Linked DNA regions of Homo sapiens: regions 1, 2, 3 and 5 are each linked to region 4. The links are contacts of gene promoters, found by promoter capture Hi-C in human tissues and cell types (Jung and others, 2019). All regions are on one chromosome and are shown on one strand. Each heading gives the region's core, a stretch centred on a gene start or on the middle of the fragment in contact. The rest is flanking DNA. Distances are from core to core; before and after follow the strand shown.

Evidence for each region. Contacts are between HindIII fragments. The study calls those that stand out against the background at their distance.
Region 1: a contact is called between a fragment that was not itself captured here and the fragment with the promoter of TBC1D9 in region 4, in 1 of the 25 tissues and cell types used here (bladder).
Region 2: a fragment that was not itself captured here is called in contact with the fragment with the promoter of TBC1D9 in region 4 in 2 of the 25 tissues and cell types used here (dorsolateral prefrontal cortex and mesenchymal stem cells).
Region 3: a fragment that was not itself captured here is called in contact with the fragment with the promoter of TBC1D9 in region 4 in 2 of the 25 tissues and cell types used here (dorsolateral prefrontal cortex and hippocampus).
Region 5: a contact is called between a fragment that was not itself captured here and the fragment with the promoter of TBC1D9 in region 4, in 1 of the 25 tissues and cell types used here (mesendoderm cells).

What each region holds. Positions count from the first base shown.
Region 1 is chr4:140,364,302-140,367,001 of GRCh38, forward strand. All of the region lies in intron 2 of SCOC-AS1 (SCOC antisense RNA 1), which reads right to left. It also overlaps a transcript of SCOC not described here and the pseudogene RPL14P3. Among named protein-coding and RNA genes, the nearest start is that of SCOC-AS1, 7.7 kb to the right of the region's middle. The HindIII fragment of the contact is 4,048 bases long and covers 1-2,700 here.
Region 2 is chr4:140,420,855-140,423,554 of GRCh38, forward strand. All of the region lies in intron 1 of CLGN (calmegin), which reads right to left. Among named protein-coding and RNA genes, the nearest start is that of CLGN, 5.4 kb to the right of the region's middle. The HindIII fragment of the contact is 3,396 bases long and covers 1-2,700 here.
Region 3 is chr4:141,127,947-141,130,646 of GRCh38, forward strand. The region is part of intron 1 of RNF150 (ring finger protein 150); the gene reads right to left. Among named protein-coding and RNA genes, the nearest start is that of RNF150, 4.2 kb to the right of the region's middle. The HindIII fragment of the contact is 3,702 bases long and covers 1-2,700 here.
Region 4 is chr4:140,755,100-140,757,799 of GRCh38, forward strand. TBC1D9 (TBC1 domain family member 9) reads right to left here and starts at 1,286. Exons shown (of 21, transcript NM_015130.3): 1 at 817-1,286. The coding sequence starts at 946. RefSeq lists a silencer at 639-1,328 and enhancers at 984-1,626, 1,627-2,268, 1,759-1,808. The HindIII fragment of the contact is 15,545 bases long and covers 1-2,700 here.
Region 5 is chr4:140,382,448-140,385,147 of GRCh38, forward strand. SCOC (short coiled-coil protein) reads left to right here. Exons shown (of 4, transcript NM_001153484.2): 4 at 1-2,700. Among named protein-coding and RNA genes, the nearest start is that of SCOC, 10 kb to the left of the region's middle. The HindIII fragment of the contact is 3,780 bases long and covers 1-2,700 here.

The DNA of each region.
Region 1 (2,700 bases), core at 170-2,669, 390 kb before region 4:
TAATAATTTTAGGAAGAGGTTTGGCTTTAAAAATGTCAAGATAATTAAAGAAGAAGCTTCTGCCAATCAAGAGACAGCAGACAAGTTTCCAGATGCCATTAAGAAAATCATTGAGGAGACAGAATATCTGCCTGAACAGGTTTCTAATGCAGATCAAAGTGCCCTATTCTGGAAAAAAAATCCACAAAGGACATTTATTAGTAAGGAAGAGAAGTGAGCACCAGGATTTAAGGCAGGAAGGGATAGGCTACCTATACTGTTTTGTGCAAATGCAGGGGGGTTATGATCAGGACTGCCCTTATCTATAAAGCTGCTCATCCCTGAGCCTTGAAGGGAAAAGAAAAACATCAGCTGCCAGTCTTAATGGCTGTACAACAAGAAGGCCCAGACAATGAGAACCCTTTTTCTGGATTGTTTCCATCAATGCTTTGTCCCTGAAGTCAGGAATTACCTTGCCCATAGGGACTACCTTTAAATTTTTTTCTGATATTGGACAGTGCCTCTGGCCACCCAGAACCCCATGAGGTCAAAACTGAAGCTGTCAATGTGGTCTACTTGCCCCCAAACACAATGTCTTTAATTCAGCTTCTAGATCCTTGGCTCTTAAGAACCCTTAAGCCTTATTACACAGGGTACTCAATGGAAAGGACTGTCAATGCCATGGAAGAGAATTCTGATAGAGAGAGCATCATGACAGTCTGGAATGATTACACCATTGAAGATGTCATCGTTGTTATAAAAAAAAGTTGTGAAGGTCATCAAGATTGAAATAATAAATTCCTGCTGAAGAAAACTATCCAGATATTGTGCATGACTTCACAGGATTTACCACAGAGCCAATCAAAGAAATCATGAAAGATATGGATATGGCAAAAAAAAAAAAAAAGTGAAAAGTGAAGGGTTTCAAGATCTGGATCTTGGAGAAATGTAAGAGCTAACAGATACCACAGCAGAGGAATTAACAGAAGAAGACATGGTGGAGATTGGTGCTTTCAAACCAGTGCCACATGATGAGAAAGAAGACATAGAAGAGGCAGTGCCAGAAAAATTGACATTAGACAATCTGGCAGAAGGGTTCCAGTTATTCAAGACTGCTTTTGACTTCTTGGACAAAAAGAATGGCATGGCTTCTATGATACAGGCACTGAAACTTCTTTGATAAAGGCACTGAAACCAAAGCAGTGGAAGAAAGGTGTTACCATATAGAAACATTCTAAGAGAAATGAAAAGGAGCAAAAAGTCAGACAGAAATTACAATGTATTTTCATAAAGTTTCACTGAGTGTCTGACTCTCCTTCCTCCCTTTTTCTCCTCCATCTCTTCTGCCTCTGTTGCCTCTGGGACAGGAAGACCAACCCCTTCTCTTCCTCCTTCTCCTCAGCTTGTTCAATGTGAAAATGAAGAAGATGAAGACTTTCATGATGACCCACTTCCACGTAATGTAAATATATTTTCTCTTCCTTCTTACTTTCTTAATAACATTTTCTTTTCTCTAGCTTACTTTATTGTAAGAATACAACATATATACAAAATATGTGTTAATTGACTGTTTATGTTATTGGTAGTGCTTCCAGTCAACATAGGTTATTAGCAATTATACTTTGGGGGAGTCAAAAGTTATACATGGATTTTCCATTACACAGGGTATTGGCACCTCCTAAGCCCCACATTATTCAAGGGTCAACTGTAGGGTAACATCCCAGATCCTGACAAAAGCTGACAGAGGAACTCTAACAAGTTGATTATTTTTATCATAAATGGTTACCAGGGAAACAGAAAACTGTAAAGATCATGTTTGTATAATGCAATTTTAAAAATCCATGAGCAGCCTAGCATTTTAGAGCCTTGCTTGCAATCTTGGGTGCCTCCTTTTCTTTCTTTCTTTTTTTTTTTTTTTTCCCAAATAGAACTTTTATTACTTTTCTAATCACCTCTTTCTTGCCAAACGCTTTTGGAGCAGGTGCTTTCTGGGCTGGAGCTTTTTGACCCTTCTGAGCTTTTGGAGGAGGCGCTGCCTTCTGGCCTGTGGCTTTCTGGGCAGGAAGCTTCTAAGCTGGAGCCTTCTTGCCTGCAGCGGTCATCTTTTTGCTAGAACTTTAGCAGCAGCTGCAGCAGCAGTAGCACGCTTCGCAGCAGGTGCTTTTTTGGGAGAAGCTTTTGGAGAGCTGCCTTTTGAAGCTTCTTAACTTCATTCTTGATTATTCTGTTCCTCATTGCCTTCATAACTTTAAAATGATCAAAATCTGTCATCTTGGCTTTCCTTTCTCTGGCTTCAATCTTCTTGGCCCATCGTGTGGCTGCCCATTTTGTATTGATGTTTGCCTTCTGCCAGGCTTGTCTGACATACTTCTGGTGGGCTCTGTGTGGAAACTTGAGGTTGAAATCAGTGAGCTGCATGCACTTGAAAGGCATGGTCTGTCTCCTCACTTGAGTGCAAGGTCCATCAACCAAAGCCCTGTTTTGATCAATAACATCTACAGTTGCAACCAATTTTCTGGCACGAGGTCCAGAGGGGATGTAGCCCACACGGCCAACCTCCACGAAGCGCCTGAACACCATGTTGGTGGCGTTTGGCAAGAAGGAAGAAGGCCAGGTGCATTCTTTTATAAAATATTAGTTATTGACCAGGCGTGGTGGCTCACGCATGTAATCCCAGCACTTTGGGAGGCCCAGGTGGGTGGATCGCTTGAGGTCAGGAGT
Region 2 (2,700 bases), core at 110-2,609, 330 kb before region 4:
TTTTAAATCACGTGGTAAAACATTCTCATTGTTGTACAACTAATTTCCAAAACTTTCTTCATGCTCTAAAACTAAAACGCTATACACTTTTAACAACTCCCCACTACCCTTCCCTCCAGCCCCTGGAAACCATCTTTCTAATATCTATCTCTATGATTTTGACTACTCTAGGTACTGCATATAAGTGGAATCATACAGTATTGGTCTTTCTGTAACTGGCTTATTTTACTTAGCATAATGCCCTGAAGCTTCATCCATGTTGTAGCATGTATCAAATTTCCTTCCTTTTTAAAGCTGGACAGTATTCCATTGTGTGTATACACCACATTTTGTTTATACATTCATCTGTCAGTGGACACTTGGGTTGCTTCCACCTGTTGGCTGTTGTGAATAATCCTACAATGAATATGGGTATACAAATAACTCTTCGAGACCTTGTTTTCAATTCTTTTGAGTATATACCCATAAGTTGAATTGCTTGGTCATATGATAATTCTATTTTTTTTTGAATCCTCATACTGTTTTCCACAGTGGCTTTACCATTTTACCTTCCCACCAACAAGGCACAAGGGTTCCAATTTCTACACATCCTTGCCAACATTTGTTCAAAATTATGTTTTTTTAAATAGTAGTCATTGTAATAGGTCCTAATATGGCGTAGTATCATATTGTGGTTTGATTTGCATTTCCCTGATGATTAGTGATACTGAGTATCTTTTCATGTGCTTGTTGGCTATTTATACATCTTCAAGGGAAACATGTCTATTCAAGTCCTTTGCCTATTTAAAAAATCAGGTTTTGTTTTTGTTTTGAGTTGTAGGAGTTCCTACAAATTCTGGATACTGACCCCTTATCAAATATATGATTGGCAAATATTTTCTCCCATTGCATAGGTTTTTCATTTTGTTGTGTTCTTTGATGCACAGAACTTTTTAATTTTGAGTTTTCCAATTTATATATTTTTTCTTTTGTTGTCTGTGCTTTTGGTGTCATATAAAAATTACTGGCAAATTCAATGTCATGAAGCTTTCCATGTTTTCTTTTAACAGTTTTATAGTTTTCTTATGTTTAAGTCTTCAATCCATTTCGAGTTAATTTTTGTCTATGATTTAAGGTAAGGTTACAACCTCATTCTTTTGCATGTGGATAGCCAGTTTCCCCAATATCATCTCATGAGAAGACTGTCCTTTCTCACAAAATGGTCTTGGCACTTTTATAAAAAAAATTTGAACATATATGTGGGAATTTATTACTAGGCTCTTTATTGTATCCCATTGATATATATGTCTGTCTTTATGCCAGTCTCACACTGATTTGATTACTATAGCTTTGTAATAAGTTTTGAAACAGAGATGTGAGATTTCCAAACTTATTCTTTCCCAAGATTGTTCTGGCTATTTGGGGTCCCTTGAGATTCTATATGAATTTTACTATTCTTGCAAAAAGTGCTATTAGGATTATGACAGGGATTGCACTGAATCTGTAGATTACTTTGGGTTGTGTTTCCATCTTATTAAGTCTTCCAATCCCAATGAACACAATGTCTTTCCATTGATTAATATTTGTTTCTTAATTTCTTTCAGCAGCATTTCATAATTTTTCATGTACAAGTATTTTACTTCCTTGATTTATTCCTAAGTATTTTATTCTTTTTTATGTTGTTATAAATGGAATTGTTTTCTTAATTTCCTGTTCATTGTTAGTATACAGAAGTGCAACTAATTTTTGTGTGCTAGTTTTTTTACCCTGCAACTTTAGTGAATTCATTTGTTTGTTTTTTGAGATGGGATCTCACTCTGTTACCCAGGCTGGAGTGCAGTGGCACCATCATGGCCCATTGCAGCCTTGAACTCCTGGACTCAGGTGATCCTCCACTTCAGCCTCTCGAGTAGCTGGGACTACAGGCAAGCATCACCATGCCCAGCTAATGTTCTGTATTTTTCTGTAGAGATGGTTTTTGCCATGTTGCGCAGGCTGGTCTTAAACTCCTAGACTCAACTGATCTGGCTACCTTGGCCTCCAAAATTGCTGGGACTACAGGCATGAGCCACCATGCCTGGCCTTCATTTATTATTTCTAACAGACTTTTGTATTGTGTTCGTGAAATCTTTAGGGTTTTGTACATACATATAAGATCATGTTATCTGCTGAGATAATTTTACTTCTTCCTTTTCAATTTGAATGTCTTTTTTCTTTCTTTTTCTTCCCTAATTTCTCTGGCTCGGGAGAAGTGGAAAAAGCAGGCATCCTTGTCTTATTCTAGATCTTAAAGGAAAAGCTTTCAGTCTTTCACCATTTAGTCTGATGTTAACTGTGGGCTTTTCATATATGACCTTTACTATGTTGAGGTGGTTTCCTTCTATTCCTAGTGTACTGAGTGTTTTTTATTATGAAAGAGTGTTGAATCATGTCAAATGCTTTTTCTGCATGAATAAAGATGATCATGTGTTCTCCCCTCCCTACATTGTAAATGTGGCATGGTACACTGATTTTCTTATGTTGAATCATCCTTGAATTTTAGGAATAAATCCAACATGGTCATAGTATATAACTCTTTTAATATGCAGCTGAATTTTGTTGTCAAGTATTTTGTTAAGAATTTCTGCATCAATAATCATCTGGAATATTGCTCTGTAGTTTTCTTGTAGTGTCTTTGGCTTTGATAACAGGGTTATGCTGGCTTCATAGAATGAATCTGGA
Region 3 (2,700 bases), core at 104-2,603, 370 kb after region 4:
AGATTTCAATTTAAGCCAAAAGAAAGTACAAACTCAATAGGAGAATCTTAAATGTTCATCAATCAAAGGGAACTGGAACACCCTGTTTCAATTAGCTGAGCCACAAACAAATTGGCACCACTGCTCTGGCCTCTTCAGTATGAAAGGGTAAATAAGGAGTTCTTTCCCAAGGCTGCCAGGAACTCAGTGAGCCTCAGAGGTATGATGATCCAGTGTGTAGCTCCTGCATGTCGTTGTGTGTCACTGGGTCCAATGCTTAGAAGGGCTAACATTTTTTGACTGCTTTGTGCCAGCTACAGATTTAAACACTGTACATGCATTAATCCATCTAATTCACATAACAAGCAATCGAGGTATGGTGTTATCCTCCACTTCACAAAGGAGGAAACCCAAGACCTGGGAGGTTAACTTGCACAAAGATACACAGTGAGAAAGTAGTGCCACCAGGACACAAATCCAAGTGGTTGGCTCTAGAGGCTACACTCCTATTTAATTAGTGCCCTAAACTGCCTCTAGAAATTTCTGATATCATCATTTTCCTTAGGGTACACCGAAAGAAGCTTCACAGGCAGGCATCAGACCAGCTTTGAGGAGGTAATTTGAGTCTCACTGCCTTTGCCTATAACTGAAAGTTCACTTCTGGGGCTTTTACTACTTGGAAGATGCATTTCTCTATAGCTTTTTGCTATGGCCTTCTTGGTGCTCTTGCACTAAAGATACAGCCTTATGTCCCTTAATAGGGGACATATAAATCTCTGGTCCATAGACTTAAAAAAAAAGTGAGAGAAGCAGATTCTCTCTATTAATCACTCTCTCTTCCCTAGCATAAAAGTGTATGAGTTGAAAGTCTGGAAAAGAATAAATAATGGTGGGTGTAAGGTGAAAGGGAATAAAATGAATAGCAGAAAAAAACAAGACTATGTTAAAAAGTAACAGTTAGTCATCAGGGAAATGAAAATTTAAAACAAAATGAAGATGCCACTTCACATCCACTTGAATGGGCAAAATAAAAAAGATAGTAACAAATGTTGATGAGGCTGTGGAGAAATTGGAACCCTCAAACACTGCTGGTGAGAATGCAAAATGATGCAGTTGTTTTGGAAAACAGTCTAGAAGGTCCTCAAAAGATTAAATCATAGAGTTGCCATATGACTCAGAAGTTCCACTCCTAGGTATATAATCAAGAGAAATGTCCATACAAAAACTTGTACATGAATGTTCATAGCACTATTTTTCATAACAATTAAAAGGTAGAAACAACGTAATTTTCCATCAGTTGATGAATAAATACACAAAATGTGATATATCCATACAACGAAATATTATTTGGCAATAAAAAGGGTTTAAGTACTGACGCATGCTACAACCTTGATGAACCTTAGAAAGATTATGCTAAATCAAAGAGGCCAATCACAGAAGTCCACATATTATATGATTCCATTTATATGAAAGGTACAAAAGAGGCATTTAAATACATGAAGACAGAATGTAGATTAGCCTAGGGCTGGGAGTTGGGGAATAATGGGGAGTGACTAGGAGTTGGGGAATATTGGGGAAGTACAAGAGTTTCTTATTAGAACTAGATAGTGATGATGGCTGCACAACTCAGTCAATACACTAAAAGCCATTGAAATGCATACTTTAAATGAGTGAACTGCAGAGTATGTTTATATTTCAGTAAAGCTGTTATACTGGGGAGGAAAGTGACTTGTTATAAAGCAAAACTACTGGTCTATCCCAGGAGAAGTGGTGTCTTTTTGAATGAGAAGTTATAGTTACATAAGTGGCAGAAAATCAAAATTATTTAAGCAGGAAAAGAAAAAAACAGAAAACGTATATGAAAAGGACAAAACAATTTCTATTTAATTGAATTTCAAGATACACAAATGCATAGATGTTAAACGACAGGTTGCATAACACTAAATACAGACCTTCTCACCTGAAATCTATCAGTTCCAAAAATAAAGCATCTAAGGAAAGGTGATAGATATATCATCAGCTTTTGCAGTTTTTAAAACTTTTTAAAAACTGAATTTAAAAGTTCACAAATATGCAGATTTTCTGGTATGGTATCCCAAGTTCACAAAATAAAAATATTTGATTAGCATCTAAAATGTGCAGTTTCTCAAACTGAATTCAGAAATCTGACCTCAAATTTAACTAGGAAAAGTAAAGCTTTCAAGATCTGGACTACATGGAAGACACTGACAGCCAGACAAGAGCTGGCAGTGTTTGAGATTTAGGCAGAAGAATTTCAGAGTATAGTCAAGGGTTTACCATGCTACCCTGTCATGTATCTGCTCATAATGACACTCTAGCAGAAATCAATGCTAGCCTCTGACTGAAGTGAACAGAGTCTCCTAATGTGGCAAAATGTCAGAAGATAATATGGAGTTTCCTGGCCATTGGCAGATACAGCATGAATACATTTTTGGAAACAGAACAATTAGATAATAGACAATTTCCAATTTTTTTTTTCCTTTAACGTTCAAACTACAGTATTACTAAACTTCCACTCCCACTATCTTAATCAAGCATCATTTGTGTGGGAAATCTGCTTAGTGTTTTCTTTAAAAATAAGCAAGCCATTAATTGATCCAATGTGTTGGCAGTTCTAGAGAACCTTTTTAGACAGGAACAAATGATGCCTCTTACTTTATGTTCAAAGAAGTTGAGTTCAAGATTTCATGCATATGCACA
Region 4 (2,700 bases), core at 36-2,535:
CCAGTTCTGTTCATTCTAAATAACACAGAGATGGAGAAGGTCCAATTTCTCTAGTATGGTATGAGTTCGAGATTATTTCTAATATGGCACTACTTTGGATATGGGTCTGACTGATCTTATTATCCTGAATGATATGACATGGCTTCAGCAACAATTACAATAATACCTTGAAGGGAGGGGGTTTAGGGAAGAAGTGATTGAGCAAAAATAGTTAAAATGCAGTTATACAGCCAATTATTTTTACAACTAGAACCAGACAATTTGCTTTGCTTTATGTCTAATTAGGTGAAACAAAAAAATTCCTGTTTCCGTATTCATTCTCTTCGGTCATAACTCATATAGGAAATGACCACATCAGTTCCTTACTTATCGCTTCCCTGGAAACAAAAGAGCATTTTATACCTGATCCTGCTGTTGCCAGTAAAGAAAGTGGAGCAAAAATTAACCTTCTTCCATCCCTCTTTTCCATTTGGAAAACAATATTTTTAAGGGGGGGAGGGGAAGGGAATGATGCATTCAATATATAGGGGATAATACATTCCCTCCGCCCCAGACTCACTCTTTCCCATTCTCCTCAACATATCCACTTAAAGAGCGCTCAGTACGCTGAGGGCCCCAAGCCTGACAGAGTCAAAAAAAGAAGCATCTCTGCCCAACCTGAACATCACGACTCTCGATGCCTCGCATACAACGAGGCAGGGCGGGTCGCCCAGCCCCAGGGGACCGGGCGGCGTCTCCCGAGCCTGCAGCCCAGGCCGCGGGCGGCGCCGCAGCGCTCCCGGCTCCCCTCCTGCAGGGATCGGCCACGGTCCTTACCCGCCAGTCCGCCGCCGCCGCCTCCATCGCCGGCGTGGCCCTTCCTCCGCTGCAGGATGAAGTATGGGTTGGCCCTCTCGGTGATCCACAGCGCGTTGGCCAGCAACACCTCCTCCGGGTTCACCCACATGGTCCTGGCTGCCGCGGGCGGGCGCACAATGGGCCCGTGGGTCCAGTCCTGCACCCACCACCGCGACAGGCGCGCACTCCTGGGCACACGCGCGCCCGCCCGCCCGTCCGCTAGGTGCGGCGGCGGCGGCGGCAGGCGACTTCAGGGGGTGGCCCGCGGCGTCCGGGCCACAACAAAGCCCCAGCAGGCGGCCCGGGAGGACGGTGAGGACGCGGGCGCGGCAAGCAGCATCCTCCCCGCGGCGTCGCCGCCCCGCGAGAGCCCGCGGCCGCAGACGCCCGGCCTGGCACTCTGCAGCCCGGCTCCCGGCCCACGGCGGCGGGAGGAGCGGGAGGAGGAGGAAGAGGAGGAGGAAGGGAGCGGGAGGAGGAGGAAGTGGTATAGCTCAGTCCCGGGATCCGGCTCAGCGCCAGGCAGGGCTAAGGGCCACCCGAGCGGATTCGGCCCCGCGGTCAGGGCCAAGCTGGGCTCCGGCGCTGCTGCTCCCGCGGCGCCGACTGGAGCTCCAGAGCCCCTCCCGTCTCTACCTGCTCGAGCTCCCGAAGTCGCCGCGCCTTAACGCGCCGTGTCGGGGCCGCAGGCGCCACTAGGGAAGCCCAGCTCCCCGCTGGAAGGACGCTCCGGACACTGCGAATGAATGACGACAACGCGGCTCACTTGGAGCGGGTCCGGGTTTGTGCGGACTCGGTACCACCGCGGGCTCCGCGCGCCGAGCTGAGCAGCTGTGGCTGGCTTCGGGGGAACCTTCGGGGGAAGCTCCTGGGGACCGTGTGCCAAGCACTGGGCCCGACGCCCATCCCAGCAGGGAGGACGCCGCCAGCCTGCGTGGGTGCGTGTGTGCTGTTTGTGTTTAAGGTTGACGCTCTATGGGATAGCGCCACCCCTTTTCCCAGGAAAAGTGTTTCAAGGTTCCAGACCTGGAGCTCGGTTAGAGACCCGGGGTCGGAAGCCAACGCAGCCAATGGTCGTCGATGTTTTTGTTTCCTGCATCCCCAGGGCAAGTCATGCGCTAAACTTGTCACCGCTTGTGACCCCTCCCCCCTCTCCATTCCATTGTAATTAAAGTGGCCTAGCTAAGTGCATTACATCACTTCTTTCCTTGACCTGTAGGGCGTGAGCAATAGAGAAGTTGGAAGCGGCCCAAAAGCTTAGACCAACTAATTCACACCACAGCTGTTCCTATATCGCATTTGGGGCTTCGAAAACTGGGCATGGCAGAATTTTAAAATTTATCCACTCTTGGTAGATGGATTTTTTTTTTAATCAGTGAAACCAGAAACACACAAACCAGGGCAGCTTTATCCCTAGACAGTTTCAGTTTCCCCAAATACTTCGAGCTTCCAGTGGTGATCACAGCCCATCTGCCTACATATCTGATGACCATTTTTTTTTCCTCCCGCCCAGGAGATCTGGAGGATAGTTCAGCCAAAAAAAAAAAAAAAAAAAAAAAAAAAAAAGTTCCTCTTCCCAAATGATGGGAATTTAGCAGACTCTGCTTTGTTGTGGATGCTGGGCAATCCTAGGGACTTTTCCCTTTCCAAATGAGCAGAGATTCAAATGAAACCTTCTTGTGTGGGCTTCAAAATTGTGACTTTTGTAGCTCCGACTTGAATTGTTGAATTCCTTCAATTAGTCGAATGAGCAAATCACCAGCCATTCTAATGAGACTGCCATTTCATCTGTTCGCTTCCTACCGCTTGGGCTCTCAAGGAATGGAAGTTTCCCTTGATGTTACCACACAGACTGATCTGCTT
Region 5 (2,700 bases), core at 81-2,580, 370 kb before region 4:
ATAGTCAAACTGCAAACATTTTGCATCCCTTTTGTGACCTAATTTACAGACATTTAAATTGTGTTGCAGTTCTGCTTTGCCGTTTAATAAAAAGCTATTTCAGAGGTTGTGTGTGTTTTGATATAGTTGCCTAAGTAAATGGGGTATTTAGGTATAGTGGTGTATCCAGGGTTATTCAATGCCACAGAATAGTGTATCTTATTTAAGTACCCAGTTACTGATTATTTAGGGGAATAATATTTTTATTAATACAACTATAACTGGTTATCAATATAAATATCATAGGCTATTATACATTAATTTGGAAAACAAAAGCAAAGCACTCAAAGGATCCAGTATCTCCAGGGAAAAAGGAAGTTGTATTTTTTAGGGTAGGCTAAGCTACTTTAGCAAGAGACCCAGTGATAAAGAATATAAATATAGAAGTTTCTCTCCCAACCAGTGGTTCCAAGGTCAGCATTGCAGGCTAGCAGCCCTTGTTCAAACAGTTATTCAGGGACTTTGGCTGAGGATGGTGCTGCCATTTTAAATCATGGCTTTCAAGTCACTCTAGTTATTCTTCTAATTTGCAGAAAAAGAACATGGAAGTGTACATATGCAAGGTGTTATGGGCTGTGCCTGGAAATGGCTCATATATCTTCTCATATTCCAGTGGTGTGGAGACTTAGTTACATCTAGATACAAGAGGAGCTGAGAAATGTAGTCCCTGGCTGGGAAGCCATCTTCCAGCTATAAATACAAGATTTTGGTGGCTGCTAGCAGCCTCAGCCACAGCTCTTCTTGTGCTACCAAGTATCTTCCCTTACACAGAAAGTAATCCCTCTTCATCCAGCTAGTGATTCAGCTCACAATCTAGGATCTCTATTAAAGGTCCATCCCTTTACATGTGGCTTCTAATAGTCTGACAATCTCTAAACTGATAGGCAAATTATTTGCTCTCACCCTTGCTGCTGCCCATTTATAATGTAGTTGGGACAGGATGGCCAAATAAAAAGTCTCAATTTGGAAAATGGAATAAAGGGAAACGTAAAAATTGTGGAATGCTCCTGGGAGATGTATGAAGATTTTGTCCCTAGCAGTGGAGAAGTTCCTTGATTCAACTATGATTCTGATCTCTGGCAGGGGACTCCCTTGTTCATTGAACTCCATGGTTTCCCCTCTGGAAAGTTACTCCTTATCCATTTTCTTCCATGGCTACCTCAGAAGTAGAGATTGGGTGTTCACTCCATGGGAATTGTGAAGACAGTCCACTTCCTGCTGGTGTGAATTTGGTGCCCATCATTTTAAGGCCAAGCTCATGTTTCTGTGGAATACGATTCTCTCAAAAACTCAAGCCTTTTTATCAGTGTGCTTCTGATTGCATATGCCGAGGAACCACAACCAAGCTTTTGACCAAATTCTCAAAGTATGTATTATTTTTGCCTTTCTTTAATGGAGGCTATCTTGAGATCAACTAAAAATAAGATTACACTGGGAATGTTACATGCAGATCATCACTGCAAAGCTGGGTTCCTTTGGCTTAACGATTGGTAGAGAAGTCTTCATGGGCTTCCCCCCAATCTCCCCCACCTCAAAAATAATTTTGAACCTTTGCTGCTATTCAGACTTCAGAAACAATTGGCTTAATTTCATGAGGTTCCTTGTATCAAAACTTTGTCTATTCCCTTCTATCTTTGCTTGAAAATGTCAATTTTTTTGATACCTTGCTGAAAGCAAGGAATAGCCAATTCACTTAACATTCTGGCTTTTTCCAGCTAGAGCTATCAGATTAGTAGGTGTCAAAATATATCCCCACTGCTTGTCATGTTAATGGTAAGCTAATGCTATATACTTAGTTTTTGCTATGCAATACTTCAGGATAATTTCTTCATTAGAAATATAGGTGGTACACAGTGTGCACAGGGACTGTGTCCAGCTTCTGGAAAAGACTCGACCAAATTTTAGACAGGCACCTCTGAGCCCTGTTTTTGACTAGTCCAGTTTTAGCAAAAATCCTGCTAAATGAGTTTAGAGATAATCCCATCCTCAATAACTGATGATCGTCAACCTGGCCTGTCTTTGGCAAGAATCACCCTACTCTTGATGTCTCCAGTTAGTAGTTTTCCATCCACTGACCTCATCACTGCTCATTGACTATAAATCCTCAGTTGTATTTGCTGTGTTAGTTGAGCCCAGTTTCTTTCCCTTATTGGGTGATGGTCTTAACATATACAGTCCTGAGTAAAGTCTTCTTTACTGCTTTAACAAGTGTCAGAATGGTTTTTCCTTTAATACTTCCTAGTTTACATGCTGGTAGAATAATGTTTGGTAGGGAAAAATCAGCATACTCCTTGTTATGGACTGAATGTGTCCTCCCAAAATTCTTAGGTTGAAATCCTAACCCCAATGTGATGCTTTTAGGAGGTGGGGCTTTTGGGAGATAATTAGGTAATGAGGGTGAAACCCTCATGAATGGGATTGTGTCATTAAAAGAAACCCCAGAGAGCTCTCTTTCTGCCACATAGAAGACAGCAGTCTGCATCTTGGAAGAGGGCCCTCAACACTGATCTCTCAGACTTCCAGCTTCCAAAACTGAGAAATAAATTTGTTTATAAGCCACCCAGTCTATATTTTGTTATAGCATCCCAAATAGTTTAAGGCACCCATTTTCCCCACTGTTTCCCAATACAAATTTCCCCAGTATTGACACTGCCATTCTAT